Linked DNA regions of Homo sapiens: region 1 is linked to region 2. Evidence: promoter capture Hi-C in human tissues and cell types (Jung and others, 2019). All regions are on one chromosome and are shown on one strand. Each heading gives the region's core, a stretch centred on a gene start or on the middle of the fragment in contact. The rest is flanking DNA. Distances are from core to core; before and after follow the strand shown.

Region 1 (5,272 bases), core at 374-2,873, 260 kb after region 2:
CCACGTAAACATGCAGAACCACGAGCCACATAAACCTCTATTCTTTCTAAATTACCCAGCCTCAGGTGTTCCTTTATGGCAATGCAAAACACACTAGGATCCTTCCTCATACAGTTGTTGGGCTCATTTTTATTAACACTTACATGGTAAACAGTATTATTTTATTAATAATAAATCGCCATTTATCAAGTGTTTACTTGGTGTCATTATGCCAAGTACAAGGCTGTACAGCATAGAGGTCAATGGCACAAACTCGGGTAGAGACAGGTCTGAATCCGGTTCTATCACTGACAAACTGTGTGACCTTGAGCAGGTCACTTAACTGCTCCAGCCCCCAGTTTCCTTATCTGTAAAATGAGTATAATACTCAGGAGTCGGCTGTGGGGCAAGTTAATGTGTGTAAAGCACTTAGACCAGTACTCTGGCCCATAAGTACCACGTAAGTGTTGGCTGCTGTTGTTTACTCAGAGCCTGGCAAGTCCCTAACCCTCAGTAGACAGGCTATGATGGGAGGGGTGCCCCTAGTGCTGAGGGAGGCACCTGCCAGCCCAGCTGGACAGTGGGGCTCGGGGCTCCCTCTAGCCCTCTGATGGACACAGAAGGAAAAAGCTGGGTGGAAGCTCAAAGACGCACTTGTGGGCTTCAGTGGGAGGGAATGAAGGTGGAACACACTCTTCTTTCATGGAGTCTGTTCCCCAACAAGAATCCCTTCGACACTGAGCTACTGGAAGGGTTAAAGTGAATACAACTTTTACACATTCTCCTTCAGAAGTCCCATGATGTAGAACTTCCCAGTGCAAAGCTTTGGCCAGATGCTGCAGGAACTCCCGTGCCTTCCCAAGGGTTCCCCACACACCCTGCCTCCTCCCTCCCTTCGGAAGGATGGTTTAATGGCTGAAGTGGGCTCTTAGCTACAAAGGCATGCTCTGAATCTCTCTGAACTTCACTTAGGTCATACACAAGGTTCTGTGCACCCAGTATACAAGGAGCAACAACAGCAAACAGCAAAACCTCTCTCTCAGCCGAGTCTCTCCGGGCACCGGTGTGTCTGGGCAGCCTGGCAGGGGCCCTCACCACTGGACCATATATTCAAAACACACCTTTACTGAGAGCCCAGGACTGCAAGGTTATAGGCACCAGGAGTCAACGAGACAGGAGATAAAGTTTACATCTCAGCAGGACACAGACAAACCAAAGTAAAAGATCGTGATAAGTGCTTTGCAGAGAATTTCAATAGGTAATAAAATAGAGGAGAAGGACAGACGGGTCCTGCTTCGGACTGGGTGGTTAGGGAAGAGCTCTGGAGAAGCAGACATTTACGTTGAAGCTGGAAAGACAAGAAAGAGGCAGCTGTGAAAAATCAGGAGGGAGAGCATTCTGGGCAGAGGAATGGAGAGAAACTCTGTGCAGCTAGACAGGAGTGAACAGGAGACGAGAGATGGGGTCTCGCTATGTGGTCCAGGCTGGTCTCGAACTCCTGGCCTCAAGCGATACTCCTACCTCAGGTTCCCAAAGTATTAGGATTACAGGTGTGGGCCACCAAGAGCTCTGGCCCAGAGGAGTGTTTTAAACAAAGGAGGAACAAGATGTCATTTACATTTGTGAATGATCCCTCTGGCTGCTCGTTAGAGATGGGCAGGGCAGGACCACAGAAGAAGTGGAGAGGATGACAGCCAGGAGGCTGCTGGACTCAAGACCTAGTTTAAATAAGGAAGCATTTACAGGACTCTCAAAAGGAATGGATGGGCATGGGGGTGTGGCCAGGGAAAGAGGAATTTTGGGCTTGAACCACTGCAAAGACAGTGCGTCATTTACTAAGATGAGGAAGATGGGGAGAGGAGCCGGTCTGGGCATGGAAATCCAGAATTCTGTGTTGGACGAGGTAAGCGTGAGATGCCATATGGTGACAGCTGAATGGGCAGCTGGGCAGCCGAGATGGGAACTGAGGGGAGGGGAAAGGACGGAGACACGAATGGGGGAAGTCAGCAAGAACTGGTGTGCAGAGCGAGGGGACTGTGGGACTGCAGGGCCCACCAGGAGCAGGGAGCCTGCCTGGGACAGGGCGTTGGACTCCCTCTCTACAGTCAAGCTTACCCAGAGGAGCCAGCAGAGGCCGAGGGGAAAGAAGAGCCTGTGAGGGTGGCAGGAAACACAGAAGAGTGGGGGCCACAGACGCCAGGAGCAGCTGGTGGCCGAGTGCGTGGACTCTCAGAATGGAATGATGGTGGACTTAGCAGCTTGGAGGTCATCGGTGACCTCGACAAGACAGTCTTGGTGGAATAGTGGGACATGGGGTGAACTTCTCGTCACCTCTTTCCCAATTCTCTTCCTCCTGAGGACCCCTCGTGTAGGCCAGAACTCAGGGAGTCACCCGGAGCCCTGCCTCCCTCACCCGCACCTCCTCACCCCTCCAGCGCTCCACTTCCCAACTCGCTCAACTCTGTCTCTGCTTCTCCGTCTGCTCCAACCTCAGTTTAGGCCACACTTCCTTTTCCTCGGGCTTCCAACTGGCCCTGACTGACTGCTCGGCTGCTACTCTCCTCTCCCCCAGGCCACCCGCAACAACTTCCCCAGATGGCTCTAAAATGCACATCTGACCCTGAGTCTCCAGTACTCAAGCCTCCTGACTCCCATCACTCTCAAGATGATAGACACGGCCGGACGCAGTGGCTCACACCTGTAGTCCCAGCACTTTGGGAGGCCGAGGCCAGCAGATCACGAGGTCAAGAGATCGAGACCAGCCTGGCTAACATGGTGAAACCCCGTCTCTAGTAAAAATACAAAAATTAGCTGGGCGTGGTGGCAGGCTCCTGTAGTCTCAGTTTCTCTGGAGGCTGAGGTAGGAGAATCACTTGAACCCGGGGGGCTGCAGTGAGCTGAGATCATGCCACTGTACTCCAGCCTGGGCGACAGAGTGTCTCAAAAAAAAAAAAGAGAGAAAAAGATGATAGACTCCGTGTCTAAACGACCCGACCCCTGCCTCCTCCAGCCCTTTCATCTCCCCTCACTCCTAAATGGTACCAGCATATACCACCCCGAAATATGCCTCTTTAGCATATGGATTCCTTAGATCTAAAGGTCTTTGAAAACCAGCAGAAGCAGAAGCTATTAACCTCCCCTAACTGCCTGAAAAGAGAGTACACATTTTCCCTTTCATAAAGGAAATTTCCATTTGTAAAGATATTTCTGCACCAGGAAGAGAGCTACTTCCACCCGAGAGACTCTCACCTGCATAGCAAGAAAACCCTTATTTCCCACACAGGTCCTCCCTCACCTTGCCTCCCACCCCAGAACCCCAAACCTCTTTTTCTTGATTTAGCCTAATATGGTATATACGCCTCCATCAACTGGCCACCTCCTTGAGCCACATTTTTCTTTGTACATTTAAAGCTGTTTTTTCTTGTTACTCTGTGTTTCATCAGAGGGGACAGGGAAAATATTTTTCTCTCCAACACTCCCCCATATCTGCCCCTCCACTGCAGCCTTGGACAGCTCCTTCTTTTTTACCTGCTTCTCTTGTTTTCTCCTGCTCATCCCTCAGCTAAAGCATCACCTCCTCCAGGAAGCCTTCCATGACTGCTTCCCATCCTCTCAGACACCTGGCCATGACCGATGGCCACTCACCTGCTGCACAGGCTCGATGGTCAGCTCCATGTAGCGACTGATTGCTGTCATTGTCCTCAGTGACTTGCAGTGTGACAGTGTGGTGAGAGGCACCCAATCCAAATTCTTGCAAGTAGAGGCAGGGAGACAGAAAGGGGAATTCTCAAAGTCAGGAGGCATTTTCTAAAAACAAGGTCACATTTTATTCAAAAGGACCCCCGTGGTATTTTCTCTCTCTCTTTTTTAACGGCACGTCTCACTTTCTGCTTCCTATAAGATGTGTCTTATCTTTCTCTTCGAGGCCACAGTCATTTAGTGTTTCCCAAATTTTGCAACACAGTAGAATCAGCTAGGAATCTTTTTTATTTTATTTTATTTTTTGTAGAGACCAGTTTCACTGTACTGACCAGGTTGGTCTCAAAGTCCTGGGCTCAAGTGATCCACGAGTGATCCTCCCACCTCGGCCTCCCAAAGTGCTGGGATGACAGGCGTGAGCCACCACACCCGGCCTATTCTGCTTTTTAAGATCCCCAGCTGAGCAGCGATCTGGAGTGAAGCTGTGATCCAGGCACTGCATTCCAGCCTAGGGGACAGAGTGAGACCCTGTCGTACAAACAAAACAAAACAAGGAATGCCTACTTCCCACTTCCAGACATTCTGATTTCATGGGTATGAGATGTAACCGGGAAGTGGATCGTTTAAACGCGCCCCAGATGATTCTAACGTGCGGCCAAGTTTGCGAACCACTGCAATAGGTGCCCAATAAGTGCTTTTGCAAAGCTGTGGTTCTCTAACCTTGATGCACATCAGAAGCACCCTGTGGGTTTTGCTAAAATACAGATTGCAGCCGGGCGCGGTGGCTCACGCCTGTAATCCCAGCACTTTGGGAGGCCGAGGCAGGCCGATCACCTGAGGTTAGGAGTGCGAGACCAGCCTGGTCAACATAGTGAAACCCTGTCTCTACTAAAAATACAAAAATTGGCTGGGCAAGGTGGCGTGTGTCTGTAATCCTAGCTACGTGGGAGGCGGAGGCAGGAGAATCGCTTGAACCCAGGAGGCGGAGGTTGCAGCAAGCTGAGATCGTGCCACTGCAATCCAGCCTGGACAACAGTGAGACTCCGTCTCAAAAATAAATAAATAAATAAATAAATAAATAAATAAATAAAATACAGATTGCTGGACCACACCCTCAGTTTCAGATTCGGGAGATCTGGGTGGAGCCCCCAAATCTGCATTTCTCACAGTTTCCCAGGTAATCCTGGTCTAGGGCCCACACTTTGAGAACCACTGCTCTGAAGAACTGCTAGAGACTCCAGAGGCTTCTACTTCTCTCTTCAGAATTCCAAGACACACAGGGCTCTGTTAATATTTTGGCCCCCTTTTGGAATATAATTTCCTAACAGTTGCTAGAAAGAAATGAAAATAACTTCCCACTAGGGCCTCATGGGAACGTGGCTCTTTGGTCTGGGCACCTATATAAAAAATGCTTTCCTCTGCGTCACATACACCACGATCTTCTATTTCACGGACTCAGTCGGATCACATGGTTAAGCCATTTGGAGAACATTCGGAGGGGCAGTTTTTGTTTTTGTCGGTCCAAATGCACTCCCCATCACTTCCTCCATCCTGGCCACGGAGGAAGTTACTCACAGCCTCACACCCACTCTCT
Region 2 (5,747 bases), core at 2,438-4,937:
CTCTGCCCAGTTCAGCCCACCCCATCCGCTGCCCAGTTCAGCCCACCCCACCCTCTGCCCAGTTCAGCCCACCCCATCTGCTGCCCTGGCCAGCCCACCCCACCCTCTGCCCAGTTCAGCCCACCCCACCCTCTGCCCAGTTCAGCCCACCCCATCCGCTGCCCAGTTCAGCCCACCCCATCCTCTGCCCAGTTCAGCCCACACCACCCACTGCCCAGTTCATCCCACCCCATCCGCTGCCCAGTTCAGCCCACCCCATCCTCTGCCCAGTTCAGCCCACACCACCCGCTGCCCAGTTCAGCCCACCACCCCCGCCCAGTTCAGCCCACCCCATCCTCTGCCTAGTTCAGCCCACCCCATCCGCTGCCCAGTTCAGCCCACCCCACCCTCTGCCCAGTTCAGCCCACCCCATCCGCTGCCCAGTTCAGCCCACCCCATCCTCTGCCCAGTTCAGCCCACACCACCCACTGCCCAGTTCATCCCACCCCATCCGCTGCCCAGTTCAGCCCACCCCATCCTCTGCCCAGTTCAGCCCACACCACCCGCTGCCCAGTTCAGCCCACCACCCCCACCCAGTTCAGCCCACCCCATCCTCTGCCTAGTTCAGCCCACCCCATCCGCTGCCCAGTTCAGCCCACCCCACCCTCTGCCCAGTTCATCCCACCCCATCCGCTGCCCAGTTCAGCCCACCCCATCCTCTGCCCAGTTGTGTCCCAGGGAGTGAAGCCACCTCTCAGAGTCCCAGTCTGCGACTGTAAACCAAGAACGACCATGATAACAATAATCATCATAATACCTCAGTCCCGGCATGGTTAGGGCTATTGTGACTCTCAAATGAGAGAACAGGCATTGGGCCGCAGCAAGAAAATAGAAACAACCTAAATGTCCAACATGAGGGATTGGTTACATGAATCATGCTACTCGGATGTAATGGAAACCCTCTCTGCTATGTTTAAAATTATATTACAGGCTGGGTTCAGTGGCTCATGCCTGTCATCCCAGCACTTTGGGCGGCAGAGGCAGGAGGATTGCTTGAGGCCAGGAGTTTGAAATCAGCCTGGGCAACATGGTAACATCTCATCTCTTCAAAAAATTATAAAAATTACCCAAGCATAGTGGTGCATGCTTGTAGTCTCAACTACTCGAGAGGCTGAGGTGGGAGGACGGCTTGAGACTGGGAGGTCGAGGCTGCAATGAGTGGGTGATTGCTCTACTGCACTCCAGCGTGAGAAGGGGGAGACCTTGTCTCAAAAAAATAGAATAAAAGATAAAATTTTAAACAAAAAGAAAATTTATTATAGATGTGTATTTATGGACAAGATGTTTGCAATATCTTAAGTGAAATATATGAAGTCTCAGAATGCTGCTTTTCCATTTTTAAGGTGTATTTGTACACAGAAAACATAATAGAAGCTTATGTACAAAATATTTGTGGTGGGGTCTGGCACTGTGGCTCACACCTGTAATCCCAGCACTTTGGGAGGCTGAGGCGGGAGCATCACCTGAGATCAAGAGTTCAAGACCAGCCTGGCCAACATGATGAAACCCCGTCTCTACCAAAAATACAAAAATTAGCTGGGCGTGGTGGTGTGCGCCTGTAATCCCAGCTACTCGGGAGGCTGAGGCAGGAGAATCGCTAGAACCCGGGAGGCGGAGGTTGCAGTGAGCCGAGATCGCACTATTGCACTCCAGCCTGGGCAACAAGAGAGAAACTCCATCTCAAAAGAAAAAAATTTGTAGTCATTACCTCTGAAAAATTGAATTGTGGATGATTTTAATTTTTTCCTTCTGCTTAAAAATATATGTTCCACATTTTTAAGTAAGAAACATATCACTTTTGCAGTAAGGTTGAAACCTATTTTATTCTAAATATTGAGATAAACATGTAAAATGCACAGCACAGTTCCACACACACAGTAGGGGCTTACTTGACTCTTTCCTTCCTGGCAGTGATGTTGCAAAGGCCCGAGGGAGCTTGTCTATCCTCTGTGTTAGCTTCTGGAAGAGAAGACAGCTGACAGGTTGAACTAAGAGGCCGTTGTGAACTGGGCACTATGCGACCCTCCCAATTTATACCCACCCTCCCAGTCCAGTGCAAGTCACACTTCCCCCATGAAGCCTTCCTGACTACCCTCTTCTTTTTTTTTTTTTTTTTTTTTTTTTTTTTTTTTTTTTTTTGAGACAGAGTTTCACTCTTGTTTCCCAGGCTGGAGTGCAGTGACGCCATCTCTGCTCACTGCAACCTCTGCCTCCCGGGTTCAAGCGATTCTCCTGCCTCAGCCTCCCGAGTAGTTGGGATTACAGGCGCCTGCCACCACATCTGGCTAATTTTTGTATTTTTAGTAGAGATGGGGTTTCACTGTGTTGGCCAGGCTGGTCTCGAACTCCTGACCTCAGGTGATCCGCCTGCCTCGGCCTCCCAAAGTGCTGGGATTACAGGCGTGAGCCACCGCGCTCGGCCCTTTCTTGGGTCCTCGGATCCCTCTTGTACTGTGTTGAATGTTTGGGCTCTTCCGCTCTGTTTTCTAGTCAGTTGCACCCACCCGACTGAGCCCGTGGTACTGCAGTCTTGCTGTGGTGTCTCTGCAAGCAGCTCTGCACCCCAGCACCTGGCTCGGGGCCAGGCACTGAGAAGGCAGTCAGGCCCTGTGTGCTGAATTGAAGGAATGTGTTTGTGGCTTTCAGTGACTTCGCATCTCAGGCCTTACTCTCATCCTGCTTAGTAGCAGGGGAAAGCACTTTAGCTCCGCCAGTGCCCCCAGCTGGGATCAGATTCTGACGCCATCACCTACTAGCGGTGTGGGCTTGTGCAAATCACTCCAACTCTCTAAGCCTCAGGTTTTCCAGACTTAATTATCACCTCTGCCCTCAGAGTTCAAATTAGCACTCCATTGGATGATAAATAGGCTAAATAAGATAGTAAATAGAAAGCCCTTAACACAGCGCCTGGCACATACTGAATGTTCAATAAAAGGTGGCCCCCTGCAGGTTTATTTCACCACAAACTTTATTATATGAGCCAGCACGCTTCTGGGAAGGAAACCAGGAGCTAGTCATCCTTGGGCCTGAGCTGGGTGCTGTGGCATGCGCTTGTAATCCCAGCTACTCAGCAGGCTGAGTGGGAGGATCGCTTGAAGCCAGGAGTTCAAGACCAGCCTGAGCAACATAACAAGACCCCCATCTCAAAAAACAATAATTATATTAATAAATAATTAATAATATTTAGTATTAATATAGGATTAATAAGTAATTAGTAATACTATTTATTATTATTATGCCAAGATGACAAGTATAAACTAGGCAGAACCAGGCCAACCTGGACATCTGGTCACCCTGCTTATCCTCTACTCACTACCAGCCTTGTAGGCCAGGACTGGCAGATCTTCATCTCACAAACCCCCGCCCCACCTTCCTCCTGCCTCTTCCCAGCAGCGCCCTAGCTGAGCACCTCAGGGACTTCTCCTCCCGGGGCAGGGGCCCCCCAGAACCGCAGCCTGCCTGGAGCTGCGGAATGCTCTGAAACGGGGGAGATCGCAAGTTCCCGTTCCTGCCCCCACGTCCCTGCAGACCCTGGAGCCCTTCAGCGACCCCGGGAGCCTACCGTGAGGGCCGAGCGGGTGGCGCCGGGCTGCCCTGTCTTCCTCAGGAGCAGAGAGGAGTCTGGTGTGGCCTGTGGTCAGCTCAATCCAGCCCCAGCGCTGATCAAAGTTCCAGGCAGTGGTTCCTCCCCTCACGTGGCCCCAGCGTCCCAGAATGTCACCAGGGTCACAGGACGGGAGAGGGCCTTGGCAAGGCCTCTGAAGATTACAAAATGACCCTGAACTCCTCCCATGTACAGAGCCCTGCCGGGGCCAAAATCCCACCGAGGTTGCAGGGTTGGCACCTTCAGGACCCCGAGGACACTCAGAAAGCTCTAGAGATTCCCGCAGGCGGCTGGGTTGGTGAGGCCTGGGATGGGGTCCACGCTCACACCCATACCTGTGAGCAGAGGCAGAGGGACTGGGAGCCTGCCTTCAGCCTCAGGCCCCTGCTGGGCTCTCAGCGCCCGGAGGCATTTCAAGAGGGCTGTGGATTTGTTGTTTTGTCTTGTTGTGTTTGTTTGCTTGTTTAATGAATGAACTTTCTAAACCCTTCCTGAATTAGAAGGGGGAAAAGCTATAGGGAGATGAATTGGGGCCCAATATGGAGAGGAGCGCTCACACACTCAGGGCTGGCCGAGGACGAAAGATGCTGCTTTGGAAGGGAGGGATTTTCCCATCTCCGGAGGTGTGGAACCAGGGCTGCAAGACACACGGAGTGTGTGTGTGCTGAGTGCGTGCATCTGGGGGTGTGCATGTAAGTGGGTGTAAATGTGAGTGGCTGTAGGGGGTGTGTGGTGAGTGCATGTGTGGGGGTGTGTTGTGTGTGTAAGTGGGTGTATGTGTGAGTGGGTGTGTGCGCGCGTGGGTAGGGTGTGTGTGTGGTGAGTGCGTGTGTGGGTGCGTGTGTGGGTGTATGTGTGAGTGGGTGTAGGGGTGTGTGTGGTGAGTGCGTGTGTGGGGGTGTGGTATGTAAAGAGGGTGTATATGTGAGTGGGCGTGTGTATGTGAGTGTAGGAGTGTGTGTGGTGAGAGCACATGTGTGATGTGTGTGTAAGTGGGTGTATGTGTGAGTGGGTGTAAAGGTGTGTGTGGTGAGTGCGTGTGTAAGTGGGTGTAGGGGAGTGTTTGGTGAGTGCATGCGTGTGGGTGTGGGGTGTGTGTGTGTAAATGGGTATATGTGTGAATGGGTGTAGCGGTGTGTGTGGTGAGTGCGTGTGTAAGTGGGTGTATGTGTGAATGGGTATGTAAGTGGGTGTAGGGGAGTGTTTGGTGAGTGCGTGCGTGTGGGTGTGGGGGGTGTGAGTGGGTATATGTGTGAATGGGTGTAGGGGTGTGTGTGGTGAGTGCGTGTGTGTAGGTGTGCAGTGTGTGTAAGTGGGTGTATGTGTGAGTGGGTGTGTGTAAGTGGGTGTAGGGGTGTGTGTGGTATAAGTGGGTGTGTATATGCATGAGTATGTCTCGTGTGTGTAGAATGAGAGTGTGTGAGAAAATGTGTGGTAAGTGGGTGTGAGTGTGCAGTGAGTGGGTGTGTGGGTGTATGTGTGTGGTGAGTGGGTGTGTGTGTGCAGTGTGTGGGTGTGTGGTGTGTGTGGTGAATGGGTGGGTGTGCGTGTGTGCAGTAGGTGTGAGTGTGTTGGGGTATGTGTGTGTGTGGTGTGTGGTGAGTGGGTATGTGTGAGTGTGCACTGAGTGAGTGTGAGTGTGAGGATGTATGTGGGTGTGTGGTGAGAGCGTAGGAGTGGGTGTGTGGAGGCGAGCAGGGTGAAGGGGTGACCTGGACGAGCAGTCTAAGATCGTTTCAATGCCAGGAGTCTACCATTTAAAGTAGACTGATGGCTTTTTCACTCATTGCATGGTATTGATTTTTATCTACGCTTTTTATGAGTACAAATTAATGTTTCTTTTGCACGTGAGCTGATTGCATCAGCCAAACTGCAAAGGTCTAATGGAGTGTGGCAAGGAAGTGTGTTTCAGTGGCGATATGCCACAAATGCACTCTGGCAGAGGACAGCGGGAGCCTCTGGGATGGAGACAGGCGGTGAACAGTGTGCCCAGCTCCCCCTCAGCGGCCCCCGGGCTGGCAAGGGTGGGACAGTGGCTGGGAAAAATGGCTTGCGTGGGGGCACTCACAAGCAGTTCTGGGAAGAGCCTGGCACTGCCCTGTAC

The links. The method cuts DNA at HindIII sites, captures the fragments that hold promoters and counts their contacts. A contact is called where the count stands out against the background at its distance.
Region 1: a fragment that was not itself captured here is called in contact with the fragment with the promoter of CPN2 in region 2 in 1 of the 25 tissues and cell types used here (aorta).

The regions. Positions count from the first base shown.
Region 1 is chr3:194,607,292-194,612,563 of GRCh38, forward strand. TMEM44 (transmembrane protein 44) reads right to left here. Exons shown (of 10, transcript NM_001011655.3): 8 at 3,625-3,729. Among named protein-coding and RNA genes, the nearest start is that of TMEM44-AS2, 23 kb to the right of the region's middle. The HindIII fragment of the contact is 4,521 bases long and covers 1-3,884 here.
Region 2 is chr3:194,347,641-194,353,387 of GRCh38, forward strand. CPN2 (carboxypeptidase N subunit 2) reads right to left here and starts at 3,688. Exons shown (of 2, transcript NM_001080513.4): 1 at 3,602-3,688. RefSeq lists an enhancer at 3,164-4,013. The HindIII fragment of the contact is 16,925 bases long and covers 1-5,747 here.